Regions from separate parts of the Homo sapiens genome. Here all the other regions are linked to region 3. Evidence: promoter capture Hi-C in 16 types of primary human blood cells and fetal thymus (Javierre and others, 2016). All regions are on one chromosome and are shown on one strand. The core of a region is centred on a gene start or on the middle of the fragment in contact, and the rest is flanking DNA. Distances in the headings are between cores, read along the strand shown. Region 1 overlaps MED13L (mediator complex subunit 13L). Region 2 has its middle 19 kb from the start of MED13L. Region 3 holds the start of MAP1LC3B2 (microtubule associated protein 1 light chain 3 beta 2). Region 4 overlaps MED13L (mediator complex subunit 13L). Region 5 overlaps MED13L (mediator complex subunit 13L). Region 6 overlaps MED13L (mediator complex subunit 13L). Region 7 overlaps MED13L (mediator complex subunit 13L).

Evidence for each region. Contacts are between HindIII fragments. The CHiCAGO score rates a contact against its expected background, and 5 or more counts as called.
Region 1: a contact is called between a fragment that was not itself captured here and the fragment with the promoter of MAP1LC3B2 in region 3, in 2 of 17 cell types (naive B cells and monocytes). The highest score is 6.2, in naive B cells.
Region 2: a fragment that was not itself captured here is called in contact with the fragment with the promoter of MAP1LC3B2 in region 3 in 4 of 17 cell types (M2 macrophages, total B cells, fetal thymus and 1 more); the score reaches 5.6 in M2 macrophages.
Region 4: a fragment that was not itself captured here is called in contact with the fragment with the promoter of MAP1LC3B2 in region 3 in 5 of 17 cell types (fetal thymus, total B cells, naive B cells and 2 more); the score reaches 7.8 in fetal thymus.
Region 5: a contact is called between a fragment that was not itself captured here and the fragment with the promoter of MAP1LC3B2 in region 3, in 11 of 17 cell types (monocytes, total B cells, fetal thymus and 8 more). The highest score is 11.8, in monocytes.
Region 6: a fragment that was not itself captured here is called in contact with the fragment with the promoter of MAP1LC3B2 in region 3 in 16 of 17 cell types (total B cells, fetal thymus, neutrophils and 13 more); the score reaches 20.8 in total B cells.
Region 7: a contact is called between a fragment that was not itself captured here and the fragment with the promoter of MAP1LC3B2 in region 3, in 9 of 17 cell types (total B cells, naive B cells, non-activated CD4 T cells and 6 more). The highest score is 9.2, in total B cells.

The regions. Positions count from the first base shown.
Region 1 is chr12:116,218,018-116,220,964 of GRCh38, forward strand. The region is part of intron 2 of MED13L (mediator complex subunit 13L); the gene reads right to left. Among named protein-coding and RNA genes, the nearest start is that of MED13L, 58 kb to the right of the region's middle. The HindIII fragment of the contact is 569 bases long and covers 1,140-1,708 here.
Region 2 is chr12:116,294,909-116,297,608 of GRCh38, forward strand. No RefSeq gene overlaps it. Among named protein-coding and RNA genes, the nearest start is that of MED13L, 19 kb to the left of the region's middle. The HindIII fragment of the contact is 287 bases long and covers 1,258-1,544 here.
Region 3 is chr12:116,557,967-116,560,677 of GRCh38, forward strand. It overlaps MAP1LC3B2 (microtubule associated protein 1 light chain 3 beta 2), which reads left to right and starts at 1,415. Exons shown (of 2, transcript NM_001085481.3): 1 at 1,415-1,467. RefSeq lists enhancers at 910-1,419, 1,259-1,598, 1,819-1,868, 1,909-2,008. The HindIII fragment of the contact is 18,876 bases long and covers 1-2,711 here.
Region 4 is chr12:116,199,302-116,202,026 of GRCh38, forward strand. All of the region lies in intron 2 of MED13L (mediator complex subunit 13L), which reads right to left. Among named protein-coding and RNA genes, the nearest start is that of MIR620, 52 kb to the left of the region's middle. The HindIII fragment of the contact is 2,223 bases long and covers 199-2,421 here.
Region 5 is chr12:116,252,334-116,255,273 of GRCh38, forward strand. All of the region lies in intron 1 of MED13L (mediator complex subunit 13L), which reads right to left. Among named protein-coding and RNA genes, the nearest start is that of MED13L, 24 kb to the right of the region's middle. The HindIII fragment of the contact is 749 bases long and covers 1,291-2,039 here.
Region 6 is chr12:116,273,023-116,275,744 of GRCh38, forward strand. All of the region lies in intron 1 of MED13L (mediator complex subunit 13L), which reads right to left. Among named protein-coding and RNA genes, the nearest start is that of MED13L, 3.3 kb to the right of the region's middle. The HindIII fragment of the contact is 1,389 bases long and covers 575-1,963 here.
Region 7 is chr12:116,234,884-116,237,583 of GRCh38, forward strand. It overlaps MED13L (mediator complex subunit 13L), which reads right to left. Exons shown (of 31, transcript NM_015335.5): 2 at 2,585-2,700. Among named protein-coding and RNA genes, the nearest start is that of MED13L, 41 kb to the right of the region's middle. RefSeq lists an enhancer at 2,292-2,436 and a cis regulatory region at 2,364. The HindIII fragment of the contact is 475 bases long and covers 1,095-1,569 here.

The DNA of each region.
Region 1 (2,947 bases), core at 174-2,673, 340 kb before region 3:
AGCTCGTTGAATTGAATTATACACTTCCCCTCCTCCTCCAAGTATAAGAGATTCGATAACATAAAGAGATTCAATAGCATAACTATCTAATCAGCCTTTCTCTAATTAAACTTTTGTCAAGTCATTTTCCAAAGTATGTAATTTTTTTTAACCCAGAGGCATTCAATGATCAAGTTTACTTCGTATAATACTTTCTGCAAAAGCCAAAACACAGAATAAAAGATAATAAAATGGGATTTTTTATAGCTCTCAAGAATATCCAATAACCTTCAAATCTAATATTTAACACACTGGCAATTACTGCCCACTCCTTCTAAATATAACAAAGTCAAGGTCAGTTTTTAACTCTGTTCAAAACAACAGACACTCAAAGATTCCTGCAATGCCAACAATTATAATTATGTCAACCAGCCAACATTTACAACAAAAACATGCTTTTTATACCTAACACCCCTTCACCCTACTCTGAGACTCACAGTTCAGTACTCTATGTACTTTCTGGCATTCTCCAGAAATTCGGTCTTCAGGGAAAAGTTTTAACCAGCATTTTTTTTTTTGACACTAACATCAAACTTTTCAGAAAAAGATAAAGAAGTTGTAAATGGCTCTCCATTTTCAAATTTCTTCTCCAAATAACCCAACACAAAATCTGTAATTTAACAGGAGGGCTTATCAGCATTAAGCAAAGCATTTAAGGCAATTTAAGGCAAGCAGTAAAATTTTTTTTTTTTTTGGAGACAAGGTCTTGCTCTGTCACCCAGGCTGGAGTGCAGTGGTGCAATCTCAGCTCACTGCAGCCTCTGCCTCCCAGTCTCAAGTGATCCTCCAGCCTGAGCCACCCCAGCAGCTGGAATTACAGGCATGTGCCACCACACCTGGCTAATTTTTTTTGTATTTTTGTAGAGACAGGATTTCACCATATTGCCCAGGCTGGTCTCAAACTCCTGACCTCAAGTAATCCGCCCACCTTGGCCTCCCAAAGTGCTGGGATTACAGGTGTGAGCCACCACACCCAGCCTATACCGAAATTCTTACAAGTTAGAATGAAAAGTGTCAACGTAAAATAGCCAATTACATACACCATTCTAGTCAGTTCAAAAAATTTTGGAAGCTGACAGAATGTCAATAATAAAGAGACAAGCTTTTTAAATTTTATCTTTCTGTACATAACTGGACTTATTCTTAACTTATATAGTGAATTTTATGAACATCTAATCAAGGAAAGTGAAATAAAGAGGAATACTCGTAAACATAAAGAATTTAAATTATATTCATGTTATTAGTATATATTTCTACATCTTAAAAAATCTAATTAGCATACGTTAAAGGTAAAGATAGGCAGATGCCTATTTTCACCAGTGTTCCAGTATTTTAACTAAAGCTAGATCAGCATTATAAATACAAAAATAAATAAATTTATTTCTGAAGAAAATGTAGACATCTATACTCAATTCATTAATTTTATTAATCTTAAGTAATTTTTAAGATTTCTTTACAAAGAGATGTGAATATAAAGATTAATTCATTGTTTATGTCCACAATGTGGACATTAAAATCCCTGGATCACCATCAAACCTAACTTTCGAAGCATTCATTTATTGTACACATATTAATTGTTTGAAATTTAAAATATACAGTATTTCCCAACCAAATTATTTTGAGAGTAAAATGTCAAAATTGAACCAAAGTCCTATTTAGAAAGTATTCAAGCTTTTAATGCCAAAAGCCATTTTTAAAGAAGTTCTTACCAAAGTAAGTTCAACTGCCAGTTTTTTTGTTTTATTTTGTTTTGTTTCTTGAGACAGAGTCTCGCTCTGTCTCCCAGGCTGGAGTGCAGTGGCATCATCTCGGCTCACTGCAACCTCTGCCTCCCGGGTTCAAGCAATTCTCTGCCTCAGCCTCCCGAGTAGCTGAGATTACAGGTGCGCACCACCATGCCCAGCTAATTTTTGTATTTTTGGTAGAGACAGGGTTTCACCATCTTGGCCAGGCTGGTCTTGAACTCCTGACCTCGTGATCCACCCCGCCTCAGCCTCCCAAAGTGCTGGGATTACAGGTGTGAGCCACCGCACCCAGCCTACCAGTTTTTAAAATGATATAGCAAAACTATCTGTAACACTGCCTAAGTGAACTAAAGCTGTAACAGACTAGCTTAAGCTGTTAATGCCATTATAAACTAATCTTTTCACAAAACATACCAAATAATCATGGGATCAATTAAAATCTCCATAAAATAATAATCTGAATTACTATTTAAATTAATATTTACTTCTTCTAAACTCTATTGCCTCCTACTCGAGATTTCCAAGAGAAAACTATTATTTACATAGCCAACTTCCAGATTCCCACTTCTCTTAGACCATCAAAATACACGCGCTGGATTTTAAAAGAGAACATAGGGCCGGACGTGGTGACTCATGCCTATAATCCCAACACTTTGGGAGGCCGAGGCGGGCAGATCACTTGAGGTCAGAAGTTCAAGACCAGCCTGGCCATTATGGCGAAACCCCATCTCTACTAAAAATACAAAAATTTGCCAGGCATGGTGGTGCTCATTTGTAATCCCAGCTACTTGGGAGGCTGAGGCAGGAGAACCACTTGATCCCGGGAGGCGGAGGTTGCAGTGAGCCGAGATTGTGCCATTGCACTCCAGCCTAGGCAACAGAGCGAGACTCTGTCTCAAAATAAAGGGGCCATAAACAAAAGTTTTTTGCTTTGATATACATATATTGGCAGAGGTTACATTTTATATATGGTCTATTAACCTGAGAATTAATTAACCAAATAAGTTACCAGGTAAAATTTTAGGCATAATACTTAGTCTTATGAAAACCACAGAGTTGGGGGAAAAAACTGTGTGGTTCTGCACTTTTAAACAAAGTATATACTACTGAATATACTACTGAACTCAAACTTCAGTGATTAGTTTGAAGTCCCTCTAGTGTTC
Region 2 (2,700 bases), core at 151-2,650, 260 kb before region 3:
GTACTACTACTTGGAAACCCTTTCTTTGTCAGGGTCTCCTCTGTACTCAAAAGGAATAAAGGTTCATTTTGTTTAAGGATTCTAAACAGTCTCTTTAATACAGAAAGACCTCTTAACCTGCCCTTCACACCAGTTGTTATGAACGCATGAGGCTTCATTGAAGCAGTAGCAAAGATCTGTAATTACAAGCACTAACAAGGGAATGAACTCAAAGGAATGTTTTTTCCCACTTGTATGTGTCAGGCCATGAGCTTAGCACTTTCTGATTTCTTTACATTGTGCCTGGTGCCTGGTTACCAACAGATTCTTAGCAGAGAATCATATTTACTATTAATCTGTATCTTTTTCCAGCTATACCAGAATATTAACATCCATTGGCCTCATTGGCATCAATGGCCAGGTAAAAGATTGTCAAAGGAAAAGGAGGGACCTATGTATAAAGAAATAGATAATAGATGATAGACAGATGGATGGAAGAGTAGATAGATAGTAGGCGAAGAGAGATGGATGGATGATGGAGGTCAGATGAATGGATGAATAAATGATGGAAAATGGATGGATGGGTAGATGGATGGAGGATGGAAGATGGATGATGGAGGGATGGAGGATGAAGGATGAGTGGATGGAGGATGAAGGATGGGTGGGTGGATGGATAATGGATGGATGGATGGATAGATGATGGATGGATGGATGGATGGATGGATGAAAGGATGGATGAATGGATGAATGGGTAGATGAATGATGGATGGATGAATGGATGGATGAATGGGCAGACAGAACTATTCAAAGCAAAGAAACTTTAAACATACTATCCAGGTGTCAGTGAGTAATTTTTCTTTCCATTTCTTCAGTTTTCCATTGAATCAAGGACAGTGGCAGGGCACATTGGATATCTATGAAACAAGAATGGCACAGCCCTTCTGGCTATCGCAGTGGACTCTGTATCTGGAGCTCATCAGATGAGGTCCAAAGTCTGTAAGAAACCAACAGGAGGAGCTGAAGCAGGCTAGATCCCAGTCTGTTAGGGAAGCTGGAGAAAGGGTCAGTGTGGCGGCTGCATGCACCAAGTAAACACAGAGGTTCTGCTAACTTGAAGGATTGGTTTGATACTGTGATGCTTGAGTTTTGTTTTCCTTCCCACAGTATTACTTAATGGATGTAATTTAATGGGTGCCAAAAGTCTCCAAATCTCTCTTCCCTACTAGAAGGAAATGCCTTAAATTCTCACCATTCCATTCACATTTTTTTAATTCAAAAAGCTTTTTGCTTTATTAGATTATAAAAATAACATTAACAAGTAAATAAATAAGATAAAATGAGAGAGCAAAAGGAAAAGAAACGCAAGCTCTCCATTAAATATTCAAACAATATGGAAGAATATTAATGAGCAAGTGAAAATGACCTACAATTCCATCATTCCATGATATGCACTACTAACATGTTGAAAAATATCTAATGAAGCAATAAAAGCAGCATATTTAAAGATCTACCATGCTCCAGGCACTGGATTACAGGGGACAATGTTTGTCCTTTGGGACTTCATAAGCTTCTGAAGGAAACAAATGAGGTATTATAAGTGTGATGAGTGTTTTGCAACTTGTTTTCTGCACTCAACAACGTGTCATAGGCATCTTCGTGTGTGTGTGTGTGTGTATGTGTATGCATATATCAGGGATGAAAATATCACTAAGTATTTATCAACTTTTCACCTATTCTTTCTTCTAAAGAAGATTCTGCCTTTGCCTCCCTAATCCCTAGACCTTTTGTTGGACCCATCAGGGACTGGAGAAGCTAAGAGTGAGTACATTGACTTGCAATTTGCACAAGGAAGGACCTGAAGCCACCTGGGGTAGAACAGAGTAGATCAAAAAGGGAGTAAGGCCAGGCATAATGGCTCATGCCTGTAATCCCAACTCTTTGGGAGGCTGAGGCAGAAGGATCACTTGAGCCCAGGAGTTTGAGCTTGCAGTGAGCTATGATGGTGTCACTGCACTCCAGCCTGGGCAACAGAGCAAGACCGTCATCATTACAAAAATTAAAAAAAAAAAAATTAGGCATGGTGGCACCTGATTGTGGTCCTAGCCTCTCAGGAGGCTGAGGTGTGAGCCCAGGAGTTCCAGGTTGCAGCGAGGTATGATGGCACCACTGTACTCCAGGCTGGGCCATACAACAAGACCCTGTCTCTTACAATTAAAAAAAAAAGTGGGGAGGAGTGGATGAATGAAGAAGGAAAGAGTGCCTGAAGAAAAGAATATAATAGCCCACACTGAAATTGGGAGGAAATGAGGAGAAGCATTTAAGGAAGTAGCTGTTACAATGAGGGAGACTTGAGGATCGTACGGATTGCTCAAAGAGGCTTCAGTTCAGATATCAATTATTTTCCAATGCTGGTGATTCTTTGGTATGTGATTCTTTGGTTGAGACTGGCCACAGTTTGGCTCATTGTAGTCTGATAGCACATAAAACTACCTCATTCTTTTTGATGGCTGTATAGTGTTCCATTGTGTGAGTGTAAACAAACTTTATTTACTCCTTTCCCTTTAGGCTGAGATGTAGGTCATTAGATCTATTTTTGCTATTAAATATAGACACTGTGATGGACATCTTTCCAAATAGGCTTACTTCTAAAAAGTGAAAGATAGGTAGGTGAATGAAGACAGGGAAATAGGAAAGAAAGGAGAAGAAAGAAAGAAAAAAGAA
Region 3 (2,711 bases), core at 165-2,664:
TTGGCCAGGCTGGTTTTGAACTCCTGATCTCAAGTAATCCACCCACCCTGGCCTCCCAAAGTACTGGGATTACAGGCATGAGCCACTGCACCCGGACTTAAAGTGGTTTTTAAAAAGTGCCGTGTGAGACTTCCAAATAGTACTCACGGGGAGGGAAATGAAAGGAGAGGATTGGGGAAGAAACACCTTCTATTTTTTTTTTTTTTTTTTTTTTTTAGAGACAGGGTCTTGCTCTGTCACCCAGGCTGCAGCCTGGACCTCTTGGGCTCAAGGGATCCTCCCACCTTAGCCTCCTGTGTAGCTGGGACCACAGGCGTGCACCGCCACACCCAGCTAATTTTTTTTATTTTTTTGCAGAGATGGGGTCTCTCTATGTTGCCCAGGCTGGCCTCAAACTCCTGGGCTCAAGTGATCCTCCCTTCTCGGCCTCCCAAAGTACTGGGATTACAGGGGTGAGCCACCTCACCTGTACAGCTTCTTTGGAGAATGGGCCTGGGCAGGTCAAACAGGGGCCACTCTACACCATCATGGCACAGCAAGAGCTGGGCTATGTAGGTTCAGTATTCTTTGTCATTTAATCCTTGTGACGACCTCGTGTCATCATTGCTGTTTTACAGATAAGGAACTGAGGCTCAGAGAGGTTCAGTGTCACAGCTAGCATTTCACTTACATATCACAGAGCAAAGGCTCTCTTTGTCCAGAGACAACGTGCCTTTAGGTGATAGAGCTAGGACTGGAACCCAAGTCTATCTGACTCAAAGTCCACACAGCTTGTCCCCCATCCCGCAGGGACCTCTCCACGCTAGTGAGCCCCACGAAACCCCCTCAGTGCTTCGTTCCAGTCTTTTACCTTCAAGCCCAGTCAGCGAGTTCTTTATTTCCACAAATGGTGCTATTAAACTAATGGCTTCGGGAGCTATAGGCTGGCCTCGGCACAGTTACACATCTCTCCACCCACCATGTTCTGGCTTCCAAATAAATACATTGGAAATTCCAGGAGCCGAAGCCCATTTGGAAACGTTTCCGGGCCACCATTTTGCTTTGGGATGGGCAAGAAGAGACACCCTAAACTTGAACTCCTGTCTGTGCAGCCTCCAGCCGGCCAGGCGCTAAATAAGGCCACGGCCCGTTTCCTCCTTCAAAAGTCCCTTGTAAAGGGCGATAGCAGACCCCATCAGGCAAAAAGCTGAGAAGCCAGGGTTGAAATAGAGGCCTCTTTCTGTTTGGTCAATCAGCAGCTGCAAAGGATGCGTAGGATGGAGCTAAATTTATTTGTTCCTTTCTTTCTCAGCAACAGCGACGAGGCCCGAGGTGCAGCTGTCTCGCCTCGCCTGTCTTTTGCAGGCACCGGCATGCACAGAAGATGGCTCTCCGGGAGGAAGATTCCTTTCCATTTTGTTCTCTCTCTGCCTCCGCAAGGCTCGCAGCCACCTCTCGGGAGTGCAGGGCCAGATCCTGTGCCAGCGGGTAGGAATATGTAGCTGCCTCCCAGCCCCAGGGTGGAAATCATGACCTTTGAGAAGCAGGCAAGCTGCACGGCATAGATACTCAGGCCTGGTGAAGGCAAAGTGGGGCCACACCCTAGAAAAACCACAAAAGTCCCCACAGCCTCTGCTTTCACTAGTCAGACCTGTGGGAAACTTGTAAGACACAGTCCATGTGATCGGCGGGTGGGGGCATGTTGGGAGGGGCCTTCCGAAGGCCACAGCCAGGCTGGCAGGGCAGAGTCCTTTCCAGAATTTATCTGTTTGCTTAAAGCCCAGCGGAGGGGCCACCTTCAGTCAACCCTCCAGCATACTGGTCCAAGTAGTTTTTTCAAAGTGCTTTGTGAGACTTTCAAAAGGTACCCATGGGGAGGGAAGTGAGAGGAGGAGGAGGGGACGGTGAAGAAACAGCTTCTTTATTTCTAGCCTTGCTTGAATGGCTTCTTGACGGTTACTGCTCCAGTTTTGCTGAGTCAGAAGAATCCCACAGCCGCTCACCGGAAACACAGCTGTTGGGCAAAAATAACCACAGAGCTGAGCATCATGCACCTTCCAGAAAAGATGGCAGAAAACCTCAAAACAAAAGAGAAATACAAAACAATAGGAGACACTGTCAAGAAAAAAAAAACAAAAACAAAAACCACCGCAGCTCACTAACCGATCCAAGCTGGTGGCGCTCTCCTGATCTCTCTCCACTCCCAGGCCCAGCAACGGCTCTGAAATAAAGCTAAGTTTGGCTATATATATATATATATATATATATATATATATATATATATATATATATATATGTATGTATATGTATATATATATATTTAGATAGAGTCTTCCTCTGTCGCCCAGGCTGGAATGCAGTGGCGCGCTCTCGGCTCGCTGCAACCTCTGCCTCCTGGGTTCAAGTGATTCTCCTGCCTCAGCCTTCCGACTAGCTGGGATTACAGGTGCGCCACCACGCCCAGCTAATTTTTGTATTTTTAGTAGAGACGAGGTTTCGCCATGTTGGCCAGGCTGGTCTCGAACTCCTGACCTCAAGTGATCCGCCCACCTCGGCCTCCCAAAGTCTTGGGATTACAGGTGTGAACCATCACATCTGGCCTACTTTTACACTGTAGTGGGTTTAATAGTGTCTCCCCAGTCACACCTCCACCAAAAAAAGAAAAGATATGTCCACAGTCTAATGTGCTGCAGCACCTGTGAATGTGACCTTAATGGAGAAAGGATCTTTGC
Region 4 (2,725 bases), core at 60-2,559, 360 kb before region 3:
AAGAGACTATGTAAACCCAATCTCAGCCATTTCTGCTTAAGAAAATCAAAAAGAGAGTTTACACAAAAGTGATACAGCACACTTCACGCACACTTTATTTTTATGTCAAATAGCTTCCTATTGCAATATCCTCATCTGCAAGAAACACTAAGTCCTTATTTAGGAATACTAAATTGTGTCACCCTTGAGGCTTATGCAAGCTTATCATCTGACTTTTAAACATTTTCTATCTCTTAGAAAATACTCTGATCAAATGCCTAGGTTTCTACTTTCAGTAAGCATGTAAAAGCATTAGCACTGATTGCCCTAAAGCACTTTCAGAAAAACAGTTCCCATTTGGTTAAACAGTCATCAAATTTTAAGACCAGGAATCCATACTTTTTAAATGCTACTTTTTTTTTTTAATTCAAACCTATATCAGGAAAAATCATTTTTTGGTCCAGTATCAAAATCTAATCTCCACCCCTCAAGAAATAAAGAAATCTATCTGCCTTAACACCATACTTCCAACATTTAAGAAGCCAATCAATTACAACTAATACCTTTATACACTAAAGAGCATCAGTCAGAAGGACAAATTTTCTCAGGAAAATAATTTCAAGTTCAAGGTTATATGAGCATTTTGGACGTCATACTGTTTTCCACGAAATATAATTTAAATCAGCAGAGAGCCAAAATACATTGTCATGGTTGAAATAAAAGGAGGAAAAGTCCGGGCGCCATGGCTCATGCCTGTAATCCTAGCACTCTGGATGGCCAAGGCAGGAGGATGCTTTTCAAAAAAAAAAAAAAAAGGAGAAGAAGAAGGAAAAAGCAAACATTATTTTAAATAGCCTGTTTTTTAAAAAATTACATGACTAAATTATCTTAGCAACATAAGATTTCTTTAATAAAGTACTACCAATCCCCTGCCTTTTTTTTAATTATCGCATTTCCTTCTTACCCCAGGAAAAAAGTAATAATGGCCACACTGCAGTCATTCAACATTTCCAAAGAACTTTTGTACTTTGTACAATGTTAACAATCTAGTGTACTATAGCCACCTTTCTCATCACACATTGCAAGACATTAATTATATTCACAATAAATTTTCACACTTACTAGTGAAATACCATTTGTAGTTCAAAATAATTTGAAACTTCAAGAAAAACAGGTGAGAAAAATAATCTTTCCTTTCAGGTCTAATTTGTGAAACTTTCAGAATTCATTCAATTAGCAATTGTTCAACTATTGTTGAATTACTTGACAGGGACTATGTTAAAAGTGCTAACAGAAGAATATGTACGTAAACTGTCCTCAATGAGCCTACACCCCACAAGGAGAGAAAAAACACAATAATCAAAGCGTTCTGGTGCATGAAACCAGCAGTAGTACACTAAGTCTATACTAAGCACACTTCAAAGACTTCAAAGACTCACTGTGCCTCAATTTATATTTTAATCAATAAATTTGAATTTTTTAATGATTAAAAATAGTTTATAAAATAAAAGCACTACGCAGCAAGTTAGATTTTTTTAATACAGGGCTAGAGAGGTAGAGAATATCATAATAATTCCTATGACATAGTAGATCGGGTAGCTTTTGTCTTTTTAACTTAAAACAAGAGGGATGGTGTAAGCAAAAGGGCACATCTTCTGGGTTAAAACAGATACAGATCAGATCTGGAGAGAGCAGGTTACAAAAGAAGAACAGTCATCCTCAAGATTACTTAGTAAATACCCATGCTGGCCTTGAAACCATGGGCAAAATTCCAGATTGTAAAAGAAAACTGACTGTACAAAGACTAGGATCAACTGAATATAAAAATACACATCCACTAGTATAATTTTAAAAAGCCCCCATGGGTTGTCATATGAGAGTATCTATCTTTACCCAAGTCTTAACTTTCTTTAAAGTCCTCTATCCCAAATTGAAAATATTATTTGAAAATGTTACACGAAGAAGTATACAAGAAAAGTCTTCTACAAGATTAGATCAGGTAAGCCTATGTACTGTAATACCATATAAATTTTGGTCATTAAGTCCATCCAAATAAGGGTTGTAATAATAAATGAAGAAACCCTGAGATGGATACATTTCCTTAACTAAAAAAGAAATTACAAGGATGAGAGAAAAAGAATAAAAATAGACATTAACCCCGAGAAATAAAAATGACACATGTAGATCAACATCATAAAACATTTGATTTTTAAAAATGGTGATCCAAATATTCAACAAATCTATAAGCTGTGTATAAAGAAAGGTAACTTATGTGCACAGTCAGCAGCATTATTAATGCATTTAATAACACATGTGAAGCAAAGGACATCAAGGAGGCAGGAGGCTTCAGGGGGATCTGTACAGGTGAGCTTTACCTCCCACAATTGTACAGAGTTTTAGGAGCACGTGTATGGGTGCTTTTTTTTCTAGGAGACCATCCAAAGCTTTCTGCAGGTCTTCAAATGGATGAATGATCTGAAAAACCTAAGAGCCATCCATATAAGACTATAAAGTTTCCAACATTACAAATATGTCTTTTTCTTGAAAATGAGCAATATAATACAGTAAGAAAATAAGTTCTAAAAAGAATTAGGTTAAGGGCAAGGTTAAAACAAGCTATCATCAAAACTCCATGAAAGTCTTTTTATGGCATTAAAGAAATATGCTTCATTCTCTTTGTAAGCTGTAAATTTGAAAATTTAAAGTTTTAGGAAACTAAACTAGCTTTACAAAACAGATGTTGCTG
Region 5 (2,940 bases), core at 415-2,914, 310 kb before region 3:
GCATAAAATCCAGCATGGGCAACATGACAAAACTTTGTCTCTACTAAAAAAAAAAATTAGCCAGGTGTGGTGGCACATGCCTGTGGTCCCAGGTACTCAGGTGTCTGAGGTGAGAGGATCACTTGAGCCCAGGACACTGAGGTTGCAGTGAGCTGTGATTGCTCCACTGCACATCAGCCTGGGTGACAGAGTGACAATGTGTCTCAAAATAATAATAAAAGGGCATAAAATCAGTGATCTAAGCATCTACCCTCAGAAGCTATAAAAGGAAGAAGAAATTAAACCAAAAGTAAATAGAAGAAAGGAAATAATGTGGAAAAGAGAAGAAATATTAATAGATAAGACATAAAACAAATTTGATAATACAGAAAAAAAGAAAACAAAAAGCTGGTTCTTTAAAGATTAGTAAAATTAACAAATGCTCATTAGACTAATCAAGAGGGAAAGAACAGACACACTACCAATATCAGGAAAAAAAAGGGGAGGCATTACCACACATTCTAAAAACACTAAAATGATAGGGGAATTATTACAGACAATTTTTGTGCCAATAAATAAAACTCAGGTTAAATGAACAAAATTCCTTTACCAAATTAACAAAGAAACAGAAAATCTGAACAACTCTATATCTATTAAAGACACAGAGGGCCAGGCGTGATGGCTCACGCCTATAATCCTAACACTTTGGGAGGCCAAGGCAGGTGGATCACCTGAGGTCAGGAGTTCAAAACCAGCCTGGCCAACGTGGTGAAACCCCGTCTGTACTAAAAATACAAAAACTAGCCAGATGTGTTGGTGCGCACCTGTAATCCCAGCTACTTGGGAGGCTGAGGCAGGAGAATATCTTGAACCTGGGTGGGGGAGGGGGGCGGAGGTTGCACTAAGCCAAGATGGCGCCATTGCACTCCAGCCAGGGCAATAACAGCGAAACTCCATCTCAAAAAAAAAAAAAAAAAAAAGACGTGGAATTCATGGTTTCAAACCTTCCCACAAGAAAATCTCCAAGGCAATATAGCTTCACTGGTGAATTCTATCGAACATCTAAGGAAAAAATATCACTAGTCCTGCACAAACTCTTTCAGAAAACAAAGGAGGGACTATTTCCCAAACTATTTTATGACACCAACATTAACCATGATACCAAAACCAAACAGAGATGATAAGAAATGTACACGCCAATATCCTTCATAAACACAGATGAAAAAACCATTAACAAAATATTAGCACATCAAATCTAATAACACGTAATAATAATACCATAAGCTTAAGTAAGGTTTGTCGTGGAATTCAAGCTTAGTTCAACATTTAGAAACCCATCAGTATAATTCACCATATTAAAAGAACAAAACCTATGATCATCTCAATAGATGCAGAAAAAACATTTAACAAAAATCAATACCCACCTTCACGGTTTTTTTTGTTTTTTTTTTTTTTTTTTTTTTTTTTGAGACAGTCTCACTCTGTCACCCAGGCTGGAGTGCAGTGGCGCAATACCTGCTTGCTGCAACCTTTGCCTCCTGGGTTCAAGAGATTCTCGTGCCTCGGCCTCCTGAGTAGCTGAGATTACAGGCGTGTGCCACCATGCCAAGCTAATTTTTTGTATTTTTAGTAGAGACGGGGTTTCGCCACATTGGCCAGGCTGGTCTCGAACCCCTGACCTCAAGTGATCCACCCACCTCGGCCTCCCAAATTGCTGGGATTACAGGTGTGAGCCCAGCCACTTTCACGGTATTTTAAAAACTAAGAATTAAAGAGAACTTTCTCAACCTTACGGGGATATCAGAAAATTCAAAGCTAATGTCAACAATGAGAAGAGTGAATATTTTCTGCCCAAGAACAGGAACAAGGTAAGGATGTACACTCTTACTACTTCTATTCAATACTGCCCTGTAGGTCCTAATCAATGCAATGAAGCAAGAAAAAGTAGTAAAATACAAATTACAAAGAAAGATATAAACCCATCTATAATTGCAGATAACATCATCACGTACGTTTTTTAAAATCCAAGGATTTACAAAAAAAGCTACTACAACTAATAAAGCTTAGGAAAGTTGCAGTATACAGAATCAATATCCAAAAATTAATGGCGTTTCTATAAACTAACAGTAAACATGTCAAAAAATACTCTCAAATGGCCAGGTGCAGTGGCTCACACCTGTAATCCTAGCACTTTGGGAAGTCAAGGCAGGCAGATCACTTTAGGTCAGGAGTTCAAGACCAGCCTGGTCAACATGATGAAACTCTGTCTCTACTAAAAACACAAACAAATTAGCCAGGCATGGTGGCATACACCTGTAATCCCAGCTACCATGATTCTCCTGGCTGAGGCTGGAGAACTGCTTGAACTAGAGAGGCGGAGGTTACAGTCAGCTGAGATCGCACCATTGCACCCAGCCTGGGTGACAGAGTGAGACTCTGTGTCCAAAGGGGGTGGGGGGGAATACTCTAAAATAATAGCCATTAAAACAGCATTGAAAAACACAACTTACTTAGGAATATATCTGATAAAAGTATGTTCCAGATCTATATACTAAGAACTACGGAACAATGTTGAGAGAAATTAAATATCTAGAGAAATGAAGAGCCAGACCATGTTCATGAACTGAAAGATTTAAAATCGTTAAAATGTCAATTTTCCCAATTTGATCTACAGATTCAATACAATCACAAATAAATCCCCACAGAAAAAAAATTTTTAATTGACACGCTGATCCTAAAACTTATATTGAAATGCAAAACACCCAGAAGAATCAATACAATTTTTAAAAGAACAAAGTCGGAGAATTTATCCTAATTTCAAGACATACTATAAAATTTCAGTAATCATCATAGTGTAGTACTGGCATAACAGACATGTAGATCAAAGGAACTGAATATAGAACCCAGAAAAAAGCAATGCACACATAGAGTCCATTAATTTTTAACAAAGATTCTAAGGTC
Region 6 (2,722 bases), core at 19-2,518, 290 kb before region 3:
AGCCAGGCGTAGTGGCTCATGCCTGTAATCCCAGCACTTTGGGAGGCTGAGGCAGGTGGATCACCTGAGGTCGGGAGTTTGAGACCAGCCTGACCAATATGGAGAAACCCCGTCTCTACTAAAAATACAAAATTAGCCGGGCGTGGTGGCACATGCCTGTAATCCCAGGTATTCCGGAGGCTGAGGGAGGAGAATCGCTAGAACCTGGGAGGCAGAGGTTGCAGTGAACTGAGATGGCACCTTTGCACTCCAGCCTGAGCAACAAGGCGAAACTCCGTCTCAAAAAAATAAAAAATAAAAAGAAAGAAAATGAACCATCATGGAAAAAAATGCTTTAAACATAAATTATAAAATCACAATGAACTGGTACAAAAAAATACCTTGTGTATTTTGGCACTTTGAAAATTAGAGAAATCATTCCCTTTTCCTAATTTCCATTTTATAGTCCACCCTATTTTGTTCTAGCGCAAAAAAAAAAAAAATTCAGACTTTCTACATTTACAACTACCTTCCCATTCTGCAAAAAAATCCCTTAAGACAAAAAGAAAGTAGGTCAACAATAGATTACCTTAAAAGCTTCAAATATAGAACTAATGGTCTTCAATAGGAATTATGTACTAATGGGTGTACTAGTGTCTCAATTCAGCAAGAATTTGAGATTATCACCCAATTATCCATAGTCAGGAAGATTCTAAGCAAATAAAACATGAAAGTGGAGCATACATATCTAAGAACTAGAGATCACTCCCTCATATCAAAGAGCACATATTTAAATCTAGTTAAAGGGCACAAAATCACTTTCTCCATATTAACTCAATAGAGAAAAATAAATGTCTACTTAACATCCAGAAATTATGTCTTCTCACAAGAATGAGTTCACATACCATAGGGTGCACTGTTACACTTTTCAAAAAGGCAGATTTAACACACTTTTAACTGAATGATTAACTGAGTGAATATATAAAAAGTCACCCAGAAATGTGATGGACAGCATAAGAAAATAGTTTTGAGTCAGAAAGGCACAGGCAGGCATGCACTTAATGCAGCAGCTACAAATCTCACAGCAGTTAGAATAAGAAACTTATACAATGACCCATATCATATATACACAATGGCATTTTTCACACGTTAGGAAAAGGGAATGGATGCTGAAAAATTAATTTAAGAAATTTGATTCCGTGCAGTAAAAAATCAGAAAATAAGTAAAAGACTAGCAGAAATCTTAAAGTGTCTGATTGATTGCACAATCAACTTTTGGTAAGCCATAATGAACACCTCAAGGTAATGGAAACTGGGTGGGTATTACCACGGTACAGAACTTAATCTCTTATTTCAATCTAACTAATGAGAGTATCTAGGTAAATTCTTTATAAATACTTTTCTCTGCAAAAAAAAACAAAACAAAAAAAAAAAAAACCCTGCAGGCCAAAAGAAAAAAATGCATGCTATTATTAAACCATAAAGCGTTCTTATAAAAAAACATGATTTTGAACAAGTGATTACATCTCCTTCAGAAATAACTATGATATACAATGTACTTTGGGCAACATATTTTTAATATTCCAGGTTGCTACTGCTGTATAGCATTTTCAAAAAAAAAAAATCTCAATTTGGAATCAGAAAAATGTACAAGTCAGCAGTTTAATTAATTTACATTTCTTCAATAGCACCTTATCCACACTCCACGTACAAGAGAATGAAGACATTCTACGTTCCTTTAAAAAAAAAAATCAACTAAGCATTTCTATGGTTCTCTAGTTCAAAGTTGCTACTTAAAAAATAATTCTTTTTAAAAAAGCATATTCAAAAATCAATCCCTTGGTTTAAAGAGGTTTAGGGGAGAAATATCTCAAACACAAACCTTTAGTCATTCAAAATCAAAGTACAGAATCCTCTCCTACAAAATTGCTTCTCCAAAAGAATCTCAAGCATTTTATCTCTGTAACGTTATCATCCTTACTTAAGCTTTAAAAAAAAAAAAAAAAGATAAAAGAAATGATATACCCTAAAGACTGGCTATACATATACTTTCATTTGTCTACAGAATCCGTATATACACAGCCATTACCAGTCAGCATAATATATGATAATTTGGGAGATCGCTCTACTTGGTTATTTTAATTACCTGTAAGTGTCAATGTGGTCACCAGTAACCACACAAAAACCATTTTAAATACCCCTTGATCAATATGTTTGCTAATCTATGGAAGTCCCTGAACCTGACTGATACTAAATGATAAGACTGAGGAGGGAAAAAGTTGAGGCAAAAGGGGGTTTTACTCCCACATACCAAAAAATCAAGGGAAAATTATCACAATACTAAGAGAAAGAATTCCAACTTATAAATGAATTTTAAGATTAAATATCTGGATTAAAATATTTCATTTAAAAAAATTTACCTGATTTTACTAGAGTGGGAGCAATGATACTATGTCTTTGTAGGTAAAAATCACGTGTTGATTTTTTGGTCTGCATTGTAACACATTTAATAAAGTAACACTTTCATTTGAAAAGTTGGCGAGAATTTGCATTTCTCCATTAGTCTCATAGCAAAAAGGCATCTATGCCACCCATAATTAAATGTAACTAATTACAATTTGAACACTAAATTATTTATCCAGTGTAAACAAGGATTAAGAGGGAAATAATGCTTCTATCTACAGCGGGGGTTACAGAAAATAATTTCCAAAATGCATGCTCTCCAAAAGGGACTCACCTCCCC
Region 7 (2,700 bases), core at 82-2,581, 320 kb before region 3:
AATTCCTGGCCTCAAGCATTTGGGCCCCCTCAGCCTCCCAAAGTGTTGGGATAACCAGCGTGAGCCACCATGCTCCGCCTATAATTTATTTTACCCAAAATAAAATGACTCAAATATATTAGAGAATGAAATAGATTCTAAAATATCTCCACTTTGTATGGCTACCAATTAAAATATTCTCTTTGTATCCTTCAGTTTTTCATGACTGCTATCGTATTTCCCCTTATTTGAAACAAAGTTGTCTTTATGACTTATTTTTCTAATTAAGGCTAGATATTTTCTGTTATTAGGTTGAACCATACATTACCTTTTTCAACTACTTTTACCTACAAAAATGGACACTTCATATAAATGAATCTAAAAACTTGCTCAAAATTCATATTAAAAAGAGGAGACGCACTCAATGAAATTATAATTATTCCATTACTGTAATACTTTCCTGATAGAATACAAAATATAAACAGTTTATACCACTATCAAACTCCAAAGAAAAGTAATCATTCCCAAGAGAAAATATTCACAATACTACATTTAATTAGAAAATTAGAAAAACTGTATGGTACCAATTTCATTTACACATAAAACATCTAAAACTCTTTCAGACTTCAGTATTTTTATTTCTTTGTTCTCTCCATATGATGACTGTTTTCCTAATTTTCTAACTTAAATGTAGTGTTTCTGTAATTTTAAAAATATCTAAAAATAATTCAATCTTTGCTTAACTCTTTACCAAAAAATACTTAAGATATTAATTTACACATGCAATCTAAAGCAACTATCCCAAAATTTAAATGCCCTACTCCTTTTTGTTAACTCAGTAACAAAGCCCATGAAAAATAACACAATAATTTAATAAGCTATTTCTAAGAACACTGACGATTTTCTCCGTTGGCATAGATAAATAAATTTATTCTATATTATCAACTAAATAACCCTCATTAGCAGTTGGGTTTGGTTTCCTCATCATTACAAAATTATATGTACCACACTAACAAAGAGCAGACCAAAAAGCTAAAACGTAAGAGATTAATACAGAGAAACAGAAGATGACAGTCAGAAACAATCATGAAAGATAAGAAAGACACTTTTTAAAAAGCTTTATACCTCTCTACTACATAGGGAAAAAAAGTAAAAATATGTTTTCATATTTTAATGGACAAACAAAAATGTTGTAATTATCTTCTAGGTGACATCTTATTTTTAAAATTCTGATAAACAGAATCCAGATGTTCTGAAACTCTAATTTTACCTAAGTTAACTGCTAACTACATAGAACAGGCTTTGAGATGAATGTTAAGTTCTGGGACTTTGCTGATTACCCAGCTAAGCAAGCAATGTCACCCACAATGGTTCTCTTATTTATAGACCAAATACCCTAAAAAATATCAGGATAAAGGTTTGAGCTGAACAGACAAATGGACCATAAAGTAAACAGTTCAATTAGTCCATTGTGGTTTACCGCCCTCTGGCTGCTGTGGCAGGAGATATCACAGATAAAAAATGGCTGCCAAGAAAAACTAGCAAGGTGTCAAGCAAAAGTTGGCAGGAAATCCTTCAGGCAAATGTAAAAGCTTTAGAACAGAGCCTCGAACATACATTACAGTTAGTTTTACTCCTTCCTTTAAAAAAAAAAAACATTAAAAACATCAAGTAACAAAACATTTCAAACACGATCTGAAATTTTTCAGACACAGATTAACACAATATAGTTTGGAGATAATAAAAGATGGTTCTAAGAGACTAAGTCAAAAAGAGTTAATACCCTAACTAAAGATTAGAATTAGTCTTGCTTGAGAAAATCCCTTTGCATACTAAATAGAAACACTTAGATAAAAAGGTAAAAATTTTTACCAGAAATTCAAAGACAACTGATAAAAGTTCCTGCTCATAAAACTGTGGTAAATATATAAAGCAGCACAGAAAAATGAAACTCTTACATTAATTCAGTTTCCAGATATCAGATGCAATCTGAAGCTAAAAATCAGGCAACACCGGAGCCAATGTTTCCTGGAATCACCAAATTACATGAAAAACAGAAATAAAAGCAAAAGAAAATTTGCTACACCCAATTCAGACCAGATCCCATATATTCATCTTTCCTCAAAATACTATTCAATGTAATCTCACAATTTTGTCCAATTAGGCTCAAAACTAAATTTCTGTATCACTCTCCAATTTTCCACCAAAGAGTTCAGCTGGCAGTGAACCATAACAACCACAGTCCAAGGAAAAAAACAGTAACTGTTCAATTCACTGTCTTGTTAGTTACTCACAATTCACTATCATTTAAAAACAGTGGATCTTAGCCTGGTTTCCACCCCACCGCACCCAGGAGACACAATACTCTCATTTAACAGCAGCGGTTCACAAGGTTCTGATTCTCAGCATAACTGGAAAAGGACAAGAGTTAGGAAAAAAAAACAGGGATGGGAGGAAGAGGGGTGAGAATGTTCCTTTTGAGAGAGACATCCATGAAACACTTAAGATCGTTCTTTTAGACAAGTCTTAATAATCTGTTTGAAATTTATCAATGTTCAAAAAAATATGATGCAAATAATTTTTAAGAAAAAAACAGAAACCTTACCCTGCAGTTCATGATGTATTACACCCACTAGGTTGGGTTCATCTCCCCACCAGAATATCCATAACTCTTTGCAATCTGGTTTGACATCACGACGCCATACACAAAGCAGGTTAGCT